Linked DNA regions of Homo sapiens: region 1 is linked to region 2. Evidence: promoter capture Hi-C in 16 types of primary human blood cells and fetal thymus (Javierre and others, 2016). All regions are on one chromosome and are shown on one strand. Each heading gives the region's core, a stretch centred on a gene start or on the middle of the fragment in contact. The rest is flanking DNA. Distances are from core to core; before and after follow the strand shown. Region 1 overlaps SLC10A6 (solute carrier family 10 member 6). Region 2 holds the start of PTPN13 (protein tyrosine phosphatase non-receptor type 13).

Region 1 (4,101 bases), core at 1,449-3,948, 230 kb after region 2:
GTTTTTTGTTTTTTGTTTTTTTTTGAGATGGAGTTTCGCTCTGTTGCCCAGGCTGGAGTGCAGTGGCATGATCTCGGCTCACTGCAACCTCCGCCTCCTGGGTTCACGCCATTCTCCTGCCTCAGCCTCCAGAGTAGCTGGGACTACAGGCGCCCGCCACCACACCAGGCTAATTTCTTGTATTTTTAGTAGAGACAGGATTTCACCGTGTTAGCCAGGATGGTCTCGATCTCCTGACCTCGTGATCCACCCGCCTCGGCCTCCCAAAGTGCTGGGATTACAGGCGTGAGCCACCGCGCCCAGCCTAAATGAAATTTTAAATGAGATGTTTTAACCAATCAAAATTGATCATTCATTTGACTGGTGAGACTGTGGGAAACCAGGCCCTCTCAGGCACTGCTGTACAACGTTGCCAGATAGCAATCTGTCATACATTTCGGTAAGCAATTGGCTTGGAAATTCAAGTCACAGGAAGTGAGCCTACAGAAATACTTGCACCTAAAGGCAAAAGTGTTTGTAACAGCACTGTAATACTGTTAAGCTGAAAGCTATCTAAGTGTCCATGAATAAGGAGTGGTTAAATAAATTACAGTCCTTCCACACAATAGAATACTTCCACATCACTACTATACTAAAGAATGAGGTAGGTCAACACAGACTGACACTCAAAGATGTTCCATAATGTGTCATCAAGTGACTTACAAAACAATATATGGAATGATCTCAAGGTTCTTAAAATGATACAGTTTACATACACAGCTTAGAAGGATACACATGGGTCTTTCTTTTTTTTTTTGAGTCAGAGTCTTACTCTGTCACCCAGGCTGGAGCGCAGTGGCGTGATCTCAGCTCACTGCAACCTCTGCCTCCTGGGTTCAAGTGATTCTTCTGCCACAGCCTCCCAAGTAGCTGGGATTACAGGTGCATGCCACCATGACTGGCTAATTTTTGTATTTTTAGTAGAGATGGGGTTTCACCATGTTGGCCAGACTGGTCTTGAACTCCTGACCTCAGGTGATCTGCCCACCTCAGCCTCCCAAAGTGCTGGGATTACAGGCATGAGCCACTGTGCCCAACCATGTGTCAATCTTTAGAAAGTGAAAATACAGGGCATTCCATTTTTAACCGTATGTGTGTTTTAAATTCTTTCCAAGCTTGTGTTACATCTATAATCAAAATGATTTTCAATTTCTTAAAAATAATAATCATTTGAGAAAACTGCCCCATTTATTATAAGAGCTATTTGTTCTCCTCTCAGTGCACCTGAGGACCTGCCCAGAGTCAAGAAGTCACATAGGTCTGCGTCACCCTGCAGTATGAGGTGACATCTCCTCTACTTAGAGTTCTAACTCTTGTTCAATTAAAATCCACAACGTGGCTGGGCGCAGTGGCTCATGCCTGTAATCCCAGCACTTTGGGAGGCTGAGGCGGGCAGATCACTTGAGACCAGGAGTTCGAAACCAGACTGGCCAACATGGTGAAACCCCATCTCTACTAAAATACAAAATATTAGCCAGGCATGGTGGCACACACCTGTGATCCCAGCTACTTGGGAGGCTGAGGCAAGGGAATCACTTGAACCCAGGAGGCGGAGGTTGTGGTGAGCCGAGATTGTGCCACTGCACTCCAGCCTGGGCAACAGAGCAAGACTCTGTCTCAAAAAAAAAAAATCCACAACATAAGGATAAGTTCCCCTAATGAAGGATTTTACCTACTGCCAGGTACTATTTGCTGCATGGGAAGACAAGAACATACAAGGCAGCTCATTGATACGTTATGTTAACCCCCAGAAGAAACTCCCTGAAATGGGAATCTCCAAAAGTGATCCCATCACAATTCACAATCCACATGAAAATATAAATATTCTAACATTGAACACTTAAATATTCACACTGGCCCTACCAACAAGATTCATGTGTCAGCTGCACACTGTCTTTACTGGCCACTGAAAAAGAAGGGGGCCAGTCCAGCCAGCTAGTCCCTGCTATTCACATGAAGTGATGTGGCCAACTGGCTCGAGAGCCCTGTGGCAATCCATTGGCCCTGGTGGCCCAGGAGTGATGGCACCTTCTTCATTCACCTCCAAGAAGGCATTGGTCTCTCTGGAAGAAGTCGATTTCCTCGTATGGCAGACTTCTGTGCAACCTGAGTTCTTTTTTCCATGTTTGTTCTTCAATCTCCTCTTGTACGTCTGATATGCTAGGTGTTAAAACATACAAGTATTAACAATCACTTTAACAAAGAGTCTAATTTGGTGACACTGTACACTTGTCAATCCTTCAGGTGTTTGTTTCAGTGGCATCATGTATGTATAAACACCCAGGGAAAAGAAGGGGGAAAGAGAGAAAGCTATAGAACAGAAGGATTCAGTGTATCAGAATGGCTCTTTTGTCTGGATGAACCATTTGTGATTGAGGCTCATTCATCAGGTTGCTGACAGCTTACACACTCATATATTCATTCATTCATTCATTCATTCATTCACTCATTCAGCTAGTCAGCTGGCAAATACTGCGAGTGCTTACTAGAAGTAGGACACTCTCCTGGGTTCTGGGCTAGAGCTGGGAATGAGCCAGAAATGATGCTTGCTTCAGTCTCTCCATGAGAAGGAAAGAAAACTTGGGTCTGAGACCAAGAGTTTGACTCTAATAGGATTTATCTTATCTGTTGGGGAAATTAAGCCCCAGGTATTCCTGATATTGTTATATTGATTGTTATATCTGTAATCAGTATATAATAATAACAATCAGCAATCAGTATATAATCAGTTCTATCAGTAATCATTGAGTCTTACTCAGACCCAATTCCCTAACAGCAGCAAAAATTTACCATGGCCCAAGATTAAAATATATATGTGTATGTGAACATATATATTTTTTTTTTTCTTTTTCGACTTTTAGATCCATGTGCATGTTTGTTTCCTGGGTATATTGTGTGATGCTGAAGTTTGGGAAACAAATGATCTTATCACGCAGGTAGTGAGCACAGTACCCAACAGTTTGTTTTTCAACCTTCGCCCCCTCCCTCCCTCTTCTAGTAGTCCCCAGTTTCTATTATTGCCATCTTTATGTCCATGAGCACCCAATGTTTAGCTCCCACTTGTAAGTGAGGTATTTGGTTTTCTGTTCTTGCATTATATATATTTTTAAATTTACCCTCTGTGAACAAACATAATAAAAGACTCCAAAGTAATGTATATTTGGCTGCAATCACATGTGCATACACATATATATTTCAATATTTGTATATGTGTAATATTTAATATTTGAAAAACATTTCACAGCCATTCAGCACAAGTCTTAGTCACAGAAACATTGAAATAACTTGGCATTTGGGAGACCTCAAGGCTTTTAATGAGACCTAACAAATCAACGCTTAAGTGCAGCAAATGTCACTTTGGAGCTCAATGATTGCTCATAGAGATCTTGTCTTAACAAGTTACGAAGTCTAAGTTCTGATAGTGGATTCACTTTTGTGAAGTATATTTGTTTATAATTATAAGCTCATTTTCAGATGGCTTTTTATATTTTTCTGTGAAACTCCCACTTGTGCGCCAAACTATCCTGTCTATGTGCCTTATCGTCCCCAGAAATGTCAGGCTTTCAAAAAGTGTATCACAGGGGCAGCACATGCAAGTTTGGATTGAAAAAAAAGTTGGTAAGTTGGGGTGAACAATTTCCCGTCAGTTATTTCCTACCCAATGGGTGTTCACCCACCTGCAACAATAAGAAATCCATCTATCAGCTGGAAGAGTCCATAGGCCAGTGGGAAACTCAACATCTGGACCAAGTGCTCAGCAGTGAAAGATAACTGGAGCATGGTGATGCACATCTGAATATTCTGAGCTCCAGTTTCTAAGGAAATTGTCCTGCACCTACCAAAAAGAAAATGTTTCAAGAGTAACGCACTAGCAATAAGAACTATTCTAATATTTTCTCATATGCATCATAACAATTAGAAGCTATGACCTCAGGCCACTGAAAATGTGTACTCATTCCATAGTTATTTGCTGAGTGCCTATTCTGCAGGTGGTCTTCTGAGAGGCACGGTGGAGTGAGGCTTTGCAAACCCTGCCCTAGGCATCTGAGTAAAAAGACAAGA
Region 2 (4,302 bases), core at 1,561-4,060:
CTGGGACTACAGGTGCATCCCACCATGCTTGGCTAACTTTTTTATTGTTTGTAGAGAAAGGGTTTCACCATGTTGCCCAGACTGGTATTGAACTCCTGGACTCAAGTGATCTGTCCACTTCAGCCTCCCAGAGTGTTGGCATTACAGGCATAAGCCACTGTGCCCCACCCCCCGTATGTTAATTTTATAACTAGTTATCTTAATTTATCTTTTATTGCCTCTAAAAGCTTTTCAGTTGATGCTTTGGAGTTTTCATATTATTTGCAAACAAATGACAACCCTGACTTATTTACAGTACTTAATTTCTTATTTCTATTTTATATCTAATTGCATTGGCTATCGTTTCTATTGTTACAATGTGATGGTGAACATTCTTGCCTTGTACTTGACTTCAATAGGAATAATTATGATGTTATGTTATAAAGGAAGTGGCTGGCTTTAGTATAACATATATATATATTTAAATTATTACAAATTCTAATTTTTATTGGGAATGATGCTGGACTTTACAAAATCCTTTTCAGCATCAACTGAGATCCTCATAATGTTTTCCTCCTTTGACTTACTAATATAATCAAGCATATGAGAAAATTTTCTGTTATTGAACTATTGCCATAACTATACACATGAAATAATTTCTCTTAATTTTGTTATATTATTTGTAATGTAGTGCTGGGTTCCATTTGTTAGTATTGACTTTTACATTATATCCAAAAGGAATTTAACCTGTAGATTTCCCTTGTGTGTACTTTTTAACAGATTGTATTTTAAAACCAGTCTTTCAGCTCATCCAAAACAGAGGGATTACTGGTGAAAATGCCTTGAGGGCAACCACCTGAAATGGCCTTAATAAAAAAAAAAACACGAAGAAGAAAAAGAAAAGGAAAAAAGCTAACAACACTGTGGTTTGTCTACTTTTGCGGAAATTTACAACACTATACTTGCTATACCTTCTTTCTGATGTGAATCCACAAGCTATTGCAGCCATTAATTAAGGATATTGCTTTTCTTTCCAATAAATACATGAACTTTCTTTCAGAGGCAAACAGAGACAGATGTTTCATGAAAGTTTCTGTTCTTCCCAACCTGCCTTTCCTACCTCCCTGATAGATGATCCAGAACATTTAAAAATGGGGGAAGAACTGAGAAAAGGGCTCCAATCATCCACTTGTGTTTCCCATCCAAGGAGCCTGGCCTGTTATTTACTTTCACCACTTATCCCTGCTGCTGCTGTTTAGTTTTTGTTGTTCCCCTCAACTGACTTTCCTCATCTTTGCTGCATTCATCAAAGCCCAGTGTAAATTCCCCTCTTCCATAAACTGAGGAATCCAGCCCATTTTACATAGCAAACTTTCTCTTAGCTGCTACCTACTCAAAGTTTGGCTGCACATTTTAGCTATAATTGTTCTCAAATTGTTTCAAGAGTGCTAGTTTTCTTTCTTAGGCTCCAGGTTAGCTCCTTGGGAGCGGGGACTTAGCTTAAAATCCTGCTGTGTATTTTCCGTTGTGTTTAGCCCTATGAGTAATCACATTCAATGCATACTTGTAAGGCATATTTGACTGAAGATATCTATCATAGTTATTCATTTAGTAAATGATATAATGAAAACTCAAGTGCTCGCCAAAGATAAATCATTACTATTAATTCCCTCATTCATCATACATGTATGGCAGCCTCAGGGGCTAGGGAACCTAGGATTGCTGCTTTGACTTTTTTTGGGGAAGCCAAATAAGCCTCAGATCTCTCCACTTTGGAGCCAGCCATGAAATTCAGATTTACCTAGGGCTCAACATTAAGGGTCTCAGACTAAATTTATCTTCAGGTACCCTTTCCAGAGTGGACCAGTTTACCTTATACCTCTGAGAATAACCCAAAACTTTCAAAACTCAAATCACAGGATATTATTTGTTCATGAATTCAGCAAGACTCTCTTGTTTAACTATTGAAACTCAAATATTTCGGCTTGCAGCAAGGAGGGGTACAGCTGTCTGGATATACCTTGGCCAAATTTCAGTGTATATAGAAAAGTGGGAGGTTATCGACTATGTTAAACCTTTTCCTTAAATTTTCAAACTTCGGGATTATTTTAGTCTCATAGATAAAATAACAAGGCAAGTATTTACAAACTTTTTTCAAAAATATGAGAATTTCAGTTTTCCCTAGGGCATTTGGCGTTGTGCTGTCACCACACTTTTGAAGATAGCTTTACAACCGTGGGAAAACTCACCGGGCTTTTTTCGTTGACCCCGCCATTTCTAAGTTGCTATATTGCTGCAAGGAGCTGGCAAAGCCATGCTCTTCCTCTCCCCCATTCTCCTCTTCCTTTCAAAGACCAAAGCGCCCCGTGAGAATATAGAAACAAGGCTGAGAGGCAGCGAAGAGTAAGGGAGGAGCCAGCACTTACGCATTTTTCACTCTCCTCCTCACTCCCTAGGGTCATAGTTTTGATTCTGAAGTTAGAAGTGTGGGGGTCGTCGGCTGCATTTTCAACTTGGCCTAAAAGTTGGAGTTCACCACACTGCAGGCGCTAGGAACTCTGCCGCTCGGTCACCAACCTGAGCCTCTGGCTAGTCCGAAGAACGCGAAAAGCCAGGCCCAAGGCACTGGTTGTCATGGCAACCGGGGCGCTGGTCTCCCTGGCGACCTCGTCCCTAGGGAGGAGGTGGAGCTGGATGCCAGGCGGGCCAATGAGGTCGAGGGGAGCTCGGGGTGGGAGATCTGCGGTCCTCCCAGTGCCGGGGAATGGTTGAGTGACAGGACCGGGGGGGCGGAGCCGGCGCGGCTGCCCGAGGTGGAGCCCCAGTGGTGCGAGTAGCTCCAGCGGCCACGCTGAGGCGAGGGTGACACACCATGCTCACGGCCCCTGGAGACCGTCGTGCTGGCGAGCCGTGCTCCGTAGCTCCCCGGTCCGCCTCGGCAGCGGTCAGAGTCGCCTACAGGAGTTGAGCCGCCCGCGCCAGAAGGTTTTGGCGAAGCTCTTGGAGAGGCGTCGAGCACAGTAGGGCGGCGGGGGTGCGTTGAGCGCTCGGGGGTCAGGCAGTCGGCCGGGATCGCCGCTGGGGAGCGTTTCCGAGGCGAGGAGGAGGAGGAGGAGATGCTGCTCCTCTTCTCCCCCTCCCCAGGCTCCTTCTACAGCTCCTTCAGCCCACGCCCGCAGCCGCTTGTGGGAGAAGTGGTGGTGGCTCTCGGCGCCCGCGGCGGCTGCCGGCGGCCCGCCCCGACGCCGCGTCCCTGCAGCCCTCGCCCGGCGCTCCAGTAGCAGGACCCGGTCTCGGGACCAGCCGGTAAGGACGAGAGCCGCCCTGGGCTCTGCGCTGCATGTGCAGAAGTGCAAAACAAAGTACATTGCGCTCGTTCTCTTCCTCCTCTCTCTGCTTTCGCTCCAGTCCCTAAACCCAACTCCTCGGTTGCCCTGGTAGAAGGAACTTTTCTTTGGTTTTGGTGGTGGGTGTTTTTGTACGTTAGAGTGGGGGTGGGGTGACTGGAGTGGGGAAGAATGAGATGAAACTCCATTGCTAATTAGGTAGATCCATCTCCTCTGCGGAAGAAAGCCGGATTCTCGGGAATGAAACCCACAGGGGGAGTAAGAGATTGTGGGGTAATAGGGAGTGACATTGCCCCGTCGTGCTTGCACAGCTCCGCTCTGTGCGTGCTTAAGGGAAGGGCTCCCGGAGTCTGTTTCTAATTTCTGCAAATGATTGTGGAGATGGTGTGGTTAGAGGCCGCCCAGAAGAATGTGTGTGTAAGGGCTCGAGAAGGGGGTGGGATGGCGGGGAAGCAGAGGAAGAGGGGGCAGAGGGAGAGACACTGTCTGATGCAAGGTCTTTTATTGCTTTTCTTCTGCTTGCTAAAGTTAACACTCTACCCTCCGGCCCCCTAGCCCCACCGCTTTGCTCATTACGTGATACTGTAAGAGCAGACAGCTGGGAAGCTAAAGTTAAACCAAAGTCAAGAAAATTCTTACAAAGTTTAATTTCCTTCTGTTGTGAATATAATGGAGAGAGGAGGATGGGGAGAAATATCACTAAGAGATTTACAGCAATACAGTTTTCATTGGCCATACACGTATATGATCGACACCACCGCACACTTCCAACTAATCTGTTCGACAGCCTTGTGTCATTTTCATTTAATTGCATCTTTGAAACAACAAACGCGGTGACTTCATAGGGAGCTGCCTGGAGCTGAGCTCCCTCGCAGAAAATGGGGCAATCGGGTTTGTTTTCAAGGCAGGACCTGAACAAAATGTAGGACACCTGATCTGTGGGATGAAGGGCGCTGGTAACTAATTATAAATTTTA

The links. Contacts are between HindIII fragments. The CHiCAGO score rates a contact against its expected background, and 5 or more counts as called.
Region 1: a fragment that was not itself captured here is called in contact with the fragment with the promoter of PTPN13 in region 2 in 1 of 17 cell types (megakaryocytes); the score reaches 5.9 in megakaryocytes.

What each region holds. Positions count from the first base shown.
Region 1 is chr4:86,821,704-86,825,804 of GRCh38, forward strand. SLC10A6 (solute carrier family 10 member 6) reads right to left here. Exons shown (of 6, transcript NM_197965.3): 5 at 3,717-3,874; 6 at 1,765-2,199. The coding sequence ends at 1,985. Among named protein-coding and RNA genes, the nearest start is that of SLC10A6, 26 kb to the right of the region's middle. The HindIII fragment of the contact is 3,092 bases long and covers 1,153-4,101 here.
Region 2 is chr4:86,591,505-86,595,806 of GRCh38, forward strand. It overlaps PTPN13 (protein tyrosine phosphatase non-receptor type 13), which reads left to right and starts at 2,811. Exons shown (of 48, transcript NM_080683.3): 1 at 2,811-3,285. It also overlaps a transcript of MAPK10 not described here. RefSeq lists an enhancer at 2,462-3,048. The HindIII fragment of the contact is 4,151 bases long and covers 226-4,302 here.